Linked DNA regions of Homo sapiens: all the other regions are linked to region 2. Evidence: promoter capture Hi-C in 16 types of primary human blood cells and fetal thymus (Javierre and others, 2016). All regions are on one chromosome and are shown on one strand. Each heading gives the region's core, a stretch centred on a gene start or on the middle of the fragment in contact. The rest is flanking DNA. Distances are from core to core; before and after follow the strand shown.

Region 1 (2,700 bases), core at 19-2,518, 850 kb after region 2:
AGGTTGAGGGAAAAGGGTAAAAAAGCACCATGACAGGAAAGTTAGAGTTGGTTGTCATGCTCAGAGTGCTATTAAGAGGTACATGTTTATAAACTGGGTAGGATTCATTTTACATTCCACACTTATAGTGTATACAGTCAATCCTGCATATACATGGGTTCCACCTCCATAGATTCAATCAATTGCAGATTGAAAATATTTTTAAAAGCTGTGCCAGTACTAAACTTGTATAGACATTTTCCCCTGTCGTTATTGCCTAAACAATACAGTAAAACAACTATTTACATAGCATTTAGATTGTATATGGTATTATAAGTAATCTAGAGATAACGAAGTATACAGGAGAATGTGCATAGGTTATATGCAAATGCCACTCCATTTGATATCAAGGACTTGTGCATCTGCAGATTTTAGTATCTGTGGGAGGTCCTGGAACCAATCCTTCATGGATACCAAAGTACAACTGTATATTGTTATCATATAAGAGCAATACTATCTCAATCTAAAACAGAACTATATATAGTTGTATTTTTAATCTATGAATCCAGATATGACAAAACATTCAGTTCTTTTGAGGCCATTTGAGGTCACTGTAGGCCACAATTTCCTGAGCATCTTACAAAAACCTTCTAGCACTTCTTTTTTAACCTAAGAATTGCTTGCCCTTCTGTTCCCTTTCTGCAGTTGATCAGATGGCTGTGAGGACTTTCTAGATCTATATCTCAGAGTTTTGTCATGTGTTTGTGGTGGAACAGGTCGGGGAGCATAACCAAGAACCTGTGTGTTTGTGGTGGCAGGGAGGGAGATTTCAGCCCTGTTCTGGGGACTGCACTGTGGAGAATAAGGAGATTATGAAACTTGGAGGTAAAACAGGACCATGGAGAGCAACAAGAAAAGCCTGGAGTGTCACTGTCAGGGGCTAGCACCATGGAGAGCTCAAAGCACAGGTATAATAGTTTGCTCCATAAAGAACAGGGGAACTGGGATCACGGGGTAAGGCAGCCAGCTCTCAAGCACAGGAACTAAAAGAACAGACATCATGGCTTCTATTAGGATCACTCTACGCTCATCACTTGCTCTATAAGGCCTCCTGAAGTGCTTTATTTGAACCTGTCTGGTTGATACACAGTCAAGAGACTGTGCTGAAAAATGAGGACCACCACCAGACTCAGTTTGTCAACATGATCTTCTGTGATTATGTTAAATACCTAGATATTAGTGGTGATGGAGGGGCTTTTAATGTGCTACAACTTACCGTGAGTAAAATTAGGCCTATCTTCTAAAGAGGGAACAGAGAGCCTGTGCCCCCTCAGAGACAGTAGGATGCAAGAAAGTCAAAATATGTATTTTCGTCAGGTAGGGTATGAGACGTATCAGACTCAGAATGTCCCAATGTATCCAAAATTGCTGTAAGTAGTTCAGACAATCACACTAGAAGAGAGGTATGGAATCATGCCTCTTAAGAAGAGTATTGTTCTCAGGATTTAGAAGTTTCTCTGTTAGTTGAGGAATTTGATGACGGCCTTAAGGCTTAGGAAAATTTTGGTAAAGAAAGAAATGATTCTTTAGTAGTTGCTGCTTCAGTGAAGAATATGTACCTTTACTTCTTAGCATCTTAGCTTCTATTGTGTAAAAATCTCAACAGATTCATGCGTTCAAGCCTCTTGAGAGCTCGACTTCTCTGTACTAGAAGGGATGGATCTTCTTGTCATATATAACAGAATTGGACTGGGTTTTTACTTGGGTAGTTATTGGAGCCCTGGGCACCAGCTGGTTCTGACCTTGTAAAAAATCATCACTACTGCTGATCCCAGAGGCAGAAACAGGTCTCTAGCCCTGGAAACTTGTTCTTCTTCATTTTATGATGACCTGAAGTATTTATACTTAATCGGAGCAAGTTCTTAGAAACAGAATCTTTTTCTGATGGCTTGCTTCTCCAGGGTCCTTTTCTGATGGTTTGTTTCTCTCTGTCTTTTGTAAGCATTTCCATGGGGATTGCTATTCTCAGAGATTAAGGGTGGACCTCTAAAACAAGACCCCATACAGGAAACAAAATGTTCTAGTACATGGGCCTATAGTCAGTGTTAAACATGAAACATTACATTCTAACATGAAAAATAAAAGAAAATATAATTACCAAAACTTTATAATAACTTTGAATTTTTCACTCAGTAGTCAGTAAGTAGCTGGTCCAATCCACAGCTTGCTTTCAACAAGAATCTGGAACCTAGATCACCATCCTTAGGTAAAATTCCATTACTGAGAATTAGATGACAAAAAAGGGATTGTTGAGCCAGTATGCAGTTCCACTGGAGTAGGAAACAACAAAGAATAAGACTAGTCACAGCCCCAGGGGTTTTCTTTCTCTGGTGATATTTTTTCCTACCAAGTGATTTAAGGAAAATAAACTTTTGATCCTGTTTTACATATTATTTGGACTGCAAGAAAGTAGTAACATCAAGAAGTACCAAAATCAAATCTAAGAATTTACAGAGCAATGGCACAACCTCTCAGTTTGTTATTTCAAAGTAACCAGAACGCCAAAGCGATGCTGTCTCTGGAATTTTATGGCTGCAGAACTATGAGTCACTCTCTCCAAGTGAATAGTGAATATCTCCAACAAGGCACTCTTGCAATTAGATTTGGACCTTCTTTCTTCTTCAGTTGGAAGAGGAAAGAGAAAGAGCCTAAGGGTAGTAA
Region 2 (2,793 bases), core at 10-2,509:
AGGGCTATGAATACAATCTAAAATAAAGTATCAAATTCTACAATGCGGACTATGTAAGTGCACTAAGTAACCACGGAAAGGGAAGAGCTAATGGGTTACAGTCCTTGGCAAGAAATTCATGGAAGTAGGGTTGGAGTGGGGTGGGGGGAGCAGGGGACCTTGACATACATAAAGGATATTTAAAAGGGAAAATAACTGGGAGTTGGGAGCAATCCAAAGATGCCACTCTAGAAATATTCTGGTAGGAGGAACCTCTAAAATCAATTCAACTTTACTGAATGGCTACTAGTACTGTGTTAGATGTTGAGGTAGAGAAAAGAACAAGATAATCTCTGATACCGAAGAATTGAAAGTGTCCTGATGGAAAACTAGGAGAGCAAAACAAACAAAAACAGTTATTACAAAGCAGTGTGACAAATGCTGTAACAAAGGAATGACCAGGGAGTTCTGGAGCACTGGGAGAACTTTTAGTAGCATGGCAGGGTCTTCTGTGTGAGTGATTTTCTGGAACTTAGATCCCGTCCGCCCCAGTCTACCTATCCTCGGACAGGGGAGGGGACTGGCATCTAAGTCATTCATTCTGCGTGATGAGGAAGTGAGTGGGAGCTGGGAGCTAACACTTGCACTGATGCCTGAAGGGTTGAGTAGGTATTTGCCAGAGTGATTGGAGAGCGGATGGCAACTTTGACAGAAGAAATAGCAAATACAGAGATACTGAGGCATAAGGGGCTGACAAGTTAAGGAATTTTGTGACGCTTTCCTGTCTTCTTTCCCATCACCTTCACCTAGGGTTGCCGGATAAAATACAAGCTGCCCACTTAAATCTGAATCTCTGATTACCAACTAGTAATTTAAAAATATAAGTATGCCTCCAATATTGCATGGAACATACACACTCAGCCCCCTTCAACTCATCCTGTCCTGTCCGGGGCCCACAAATCCCCGGTGAATACCGGCGAGCTAGTGGAGTAAAGCATGAGAAGGCTTATCTTCCTTTCACTCCTACATTTTTCACTCTCGGATCTCCAGCCCAGGACTGAAGGATGTAGCGCGCAGCCCGCAGCTCGCTGCTCGTCGGAGGGTTTTCCTCTGAGGACTGGAAATGGGGCGCGGGAAGAGGGCGGGGGGCGGCGGGCTGTCACTTACAAAGAAATCTCACTCCACTCCATAAAATCCTCAAGCCAGTGCCGGATTTCCCGGCAAGCGGACGTCTCCCCTCCCACGGACCGGAAATCCCGCCTCCGCTGGAAGAAGAAGCGGAAGCGAGACCGTCCATCCAGAGGAAGGCAAGTTTTTGGCTCGGGCGGCTGAGAAGACCGCGCGGGGCTGGAGACAGGTAGCAGTACGGGGGCGGGGCTTCATGCCGGATGTGATAGTCTGCAGTCGTTTCGGTTGGCAGCCTGGCGGGTGGGAGATGCGGCGGCCACCTGCTGCAAAGAACCGAAGGGAAGGTTAGAAGTACGAAGGCAGTTTGGAGCTGGGGCTAAGCAGCTGTCGCACGGTCAGATCATGGGCTCCACCAAGCACTGGGGCGAATGGCTCCTGAACTTGAAGGTGGCTCCAGCCGGCGTCTTTGGTGTGGCCTTTCTAGCCAGAGTCGCCCTGGTTTTCTATGGCGTCTTCCAGGACCGGACCCTGCACGTGAGGTATACGGACATCGACTACCAGGTCTTCACCGACGCCGCGCGCTTCGTCACGGAGGGGCGCTCGCCTTACCTGAGAGCCACGTACCGTTACACCCCGCTGCTGGGTTGGCTCCTCACTCCCAACATCTACCTCAGCGAGCTCTTTGGAAAGTTTCTCTTCATCAGCTGCGACCTCCTCACCGCTTTCCTCTTATACCGCCTGCTGCTGCTGAAGGGGCTGGGGCGCCGCCAGGCTTGTGGCTACTGTGTCTTTTGGCTTCTTAACCCCCTGCCTATGGCAGTATCCAGCCGCGGTAATGCGGACTCTATTGTCGCCTCCCTGGTCCTGATGGTCCTCTACTTGATAAAGAAAAGACTCGTCGCGTGTGCAGCTGTATTCTATGGTTTCGCGGTGCATATGAAGATATATCCAGTGACTTACATCCTTCCCATAACCCTCCACCTGCTTCCAGATCGCGACAATGACAAAAGCCTCCGTCAATTCCGGTACACTTTCCAGGCTTGTTTGTACGAGCTCCTGAAAAGGCTGTGTAATCGGGCTGTGCTGCTGTTTGTAGCAGTTGCTGGACTCACGTTTTTTGCCCTGAGCTTTGGTTTTTACTATGAGTACGGCTGGGAATTTTTGGAACACACCTACTTTTATCACCTGACTAGGCGGGATATCCGTCACAACTTTTCTCCGTACTTCTACATGCTGTATTTGACTGCAGAGAGCAAGTGGAGTTTTTCCCTGGGAATTGCTGCATTCCTGCCACAGCTCATCTTGCTTTCAGCTGTGTCTTTCGCCTATTACAGAGACCTCGTTTTTTGTTGTTTTCTTCATACGTCCATTTTTGTGACTTTTAACAAAGTCTGCACCTCCCAGTACTTTCTTTGGTACCTCTGCTTACTGCCTCTTGTGATGCCACTAGTCAGAATGCCTTGGAAAAGAGCTGTAGTTCTCCTAATGTTATGGTTTATAGGGCAGGCCATGTGGCTGGCTCCTGCCTATGTTCTAGAGTTTCAAGGAAAGAACACCTTTCTGTTTATTTGGTTAGCTGGTTTGTTCTTTCTTCTTATCAATTGTTCCATCCTGATTCAAATTATTTCCCATTACAAAGAAGAACCCCTGACAGAGAGAATCAAATATGACTAGTGTATGTTCCAC
Region 3 (2,805 bases), core at 306-2,805, 870 kb after region 2:
TAAATAGTTTTGTTCAGGACAGGTCCAGTAGGTGAGTGAGGCTATGGCTGATGGTCATGAGTTGAACATGATAAGCTATGATATGCTATTCCATGCCCTCTTGTATGTTTTTTACTGTTCTTTATTTTTAACCTGTTTCTTTTCAGATTATTTTTAATCTGTTTCTTGTGGTGCATTTTGGTCTTAAAATCTTTTTAAACCCTAAAATCCCAGAGCTTGCTATTACTGAAAGTAGTATGCCCTAGCAAGGTGACATCTGTTGAGGTTTGCCACCAGTTTCCAGTCCCAGGGCTTCCTTGTGGACCGCTGTGCCTGTGTGCCCATACCTGTCAGGCTGATGACTGCTGCTGCTATTCCTTGTGGCTAAGCCAAGAATGGATGCAGATACATTTGGTGTTCTCACCATGTTCACAAAAGGCCATAGCTTTTTTTCATGTGGACTGTGAAGGCCTAGGAACGACTGTGTGTGCTGCTTTGAGAAAGTTAACCAGGTTCTGGGCCCAGCTCCAAGGAGACACTTCTGACTCATTGGAAAGGCAGAAGAGTGCAGGAGAGTGAGAAAGCCTGGATTTAGAAAGTGGACTCATCTGGGCTTAAATACCAGCTGTGCCACTTATGTCATTTGAGATCAGTCTTTTCATGTGTTAAACATCAGACATTGTTATTGTCTATCTTGTAGGCTTATAAAGATTATTAAATGAGGACATTTATGTAAAACTCCTAGCATAGAACCCAATACATGTTTGTTAGTTACCTTTCTCTGTGACCTCTTCACCCTAGAGCAGGGAGATGTTCCTCTGTTTCTCTGAGTGTACCATAGAATCTTGCCCTGTGTTCACTGTCCGAGTATAAAGCACTGCTTGGATCTAGATTTTCAGTTCCAATAACTTTTTTCACTTTCGCCAAGGTCTCTCTGTTAACCTGCTCTCTGCTACCCTCGTGTGGCCACCCTGACCCTTTGTCATTCCTGATCCTCTGCTCCCTCAGTGTGGTGACTTTGCTGTAATGCAGCCTCTCCCAGACTTCTTGGCAGACCCAACTCCCACCTCCTCCAAGTTTTAACACACACTTGAAACATTTTTCAGTTTAATTTTAGTCTTCTCTTCTCAGGTAGTGTTATCTCAGTTCTTCTAACCTTTTCTCACTTCTTTTTAATATTTACCGATCTGTCAAAGACTGCATGAATTCTTTCCTGCATGTTGAGAGTTTGGACCCAGTGAGGTCTCCTCAAGCTTCAGATCACATTATCTGTTTCCTTGCTCAACACCAAGTTCTCTTTCCCATGAATGACGAAAAAACAAGTTGACCCTTGAACAACATGGATTTGAACTGTGTGGATCCACTTATACATGGATTTTTTTTTCAATAAATACAGTTTGCCCTCTGTATCTCCAGGCTCCATATCTGCAACCAAACAATATTCTCCGGATGGGCAAACTGCAGATAGGGAGGGCAGACTTTTTCTATATGCCAGTTTCCTGGTTCTGCTGGTTCCGCTGTTTTCACAGGGTCAATTGTAGATCTTGAGTATGTGCAGATTTTGGTATCCTGTGGCAAGGGTGTGGGCGTCCTGCAGCCAATCCCCAGCAGATACTGAGGGATGACTGTATTGTCGTAGATTATTTAATCATAAAAAGCTCTATTTTTCCCCCTGCAAACTCAAATCTGTTTAAGTTAATAAGGAAAAGTATACCTATTCTTGCCTTGTTAAAGGGTAATGATGGATCTTGGATAGACCCAGAATGTTAGCACTTCAAAGTGAGGATGTGTAGACAAAGAATATAACTGCTTTATCCCTTTCCTAATTGCATGGCATCTCTAGCACAGGGAATGAAGGATTATTTAGGATAGAATCAGTATACTGGTTTGAAAAGCTTTGTGGATGAAAAATAAGGGAAATCAATTTGATGAGATGGCTAGTTTAAACCAAATTTGGGAGGTGGGATTTGAAAACTAGACACTGAAGAGCTTTATCTTTATCCCAATGTCAGTTGGAAAAAAAATTGTAGCAGGACGTTATGTTGTTGAATTGGTATTTAAATATTAATTCTAAGATTCATTGTGGTAAAGATGGTAATTTTTAATTTATAAATTTGATGCAATACTATGCTAAATTCCAATAAGATATTTTATGGAACTTGACTAGCCTATTCTAACATTCCCTTGGAAGATAAAGTCAAGAGTAAATAGCCATAATTTTTTAAACACATGGGGCTAAGGGGGAGGATGATTTTCTAGCTATCCTAAGCAACTTTAAAATTATAGCAATTAAAACATGAAATCTTGGCACAGGAATACATAAATAGAACCATGGAGCAGAAGAGAGAGTGTAGTTACAAACCAACTTGGAAATTTAGTGTATGAAGAGTGCTACCTTCATTATATACTACACTTCTAATCAGTGACTAGAGGGTTGTACTGTTTAAAGACATTAGAATAATTGGTTATCTGTTTGTCAGTTGGTATGGGATAGGTTTAGCCTTTCCTTATGCCATATACGACAATATATTTCAGGTGGACTTGTGCTAAATTTTATAAACCAAACAACACTAAAAATGTTTGCAAAAACTGTCGAAAAATATACTTAATCTTAGAGTGGGAAAGACCTTCCTAAGCAAGACACAACACCTAGAGTCGATAAAGGAAAGGACCGATAAGATTTACTGCATAATTTTTAAAACTGATATAATTGCAGACCCATAGACAAAATGTAAAAGTAAGTCACAGACTGGGAAGATTTTATTTGCAATATATATGCCAAAGTATCAAAATTGCTAACATGCAAAATAGTCAGCAAATAAACAT

What was found. The method cuts DNA at HindIII sites, captures the fragments that hold promoters and counts their contacts. A CHiCAGO score of 5 or more calls a contact.
Region 1: a fragment that was not itself captured here is called in contact with the fragment with the promoter of PIGM in region 2 in 2 of 17 cell types (megakaryocytes and M2 macrophages); the score reaches 7.0 in megakaryocytes.
Region 3: a contact is called between a fragment that was not itself captured here and the fragment with the promoter of PIGM in region 2, in 1 of 17 cell types (endothelial precursors). The highest score is 7.8, in endothelial precursors.

What each region holds. Positions count from the first base shown.
Region 1 is chr1:159,175,688-159,178,387 of GRCh38, reverse strand. All of the region lies in intron 1 of CADM3 (cell adhesion molecule 3), which reads right to left. Among named protein-coding and RNA genes, the nearest start is that of CADM3, 5.4 kb to the right of the region's middle. The HindIII fragment of the contact is 3,418 bases long and covers 1-2,700 here.
Region 2 is chr1:160,030,456-160,033,248 of GRCh38, reverse strand. It overlaps PIGM (phosphatidylinositol glycan anchor biosynthesis class M), which reads left to right and starts at 1,259. Exons shown (of 1, transcript NM_145167.3): 1 at 1,259-2,793. The coding sequence starts at 1,510. The coding sequence ends at 2,781. The HindIII fragment of the contact is 5,226 bases long and covers 1-2,793 here.
Region 3 is chr1:159,159,341-159,162,145 of GRCh38, reverse strand. No RefSeq gene overlaps it. Among named protein-coding and RNA genes, the nearest start is that of CADM3, 11 kb to the left of the region's middle. The HindIII fragment of the contact is 642 bases long and covers 1,235-1,876 here.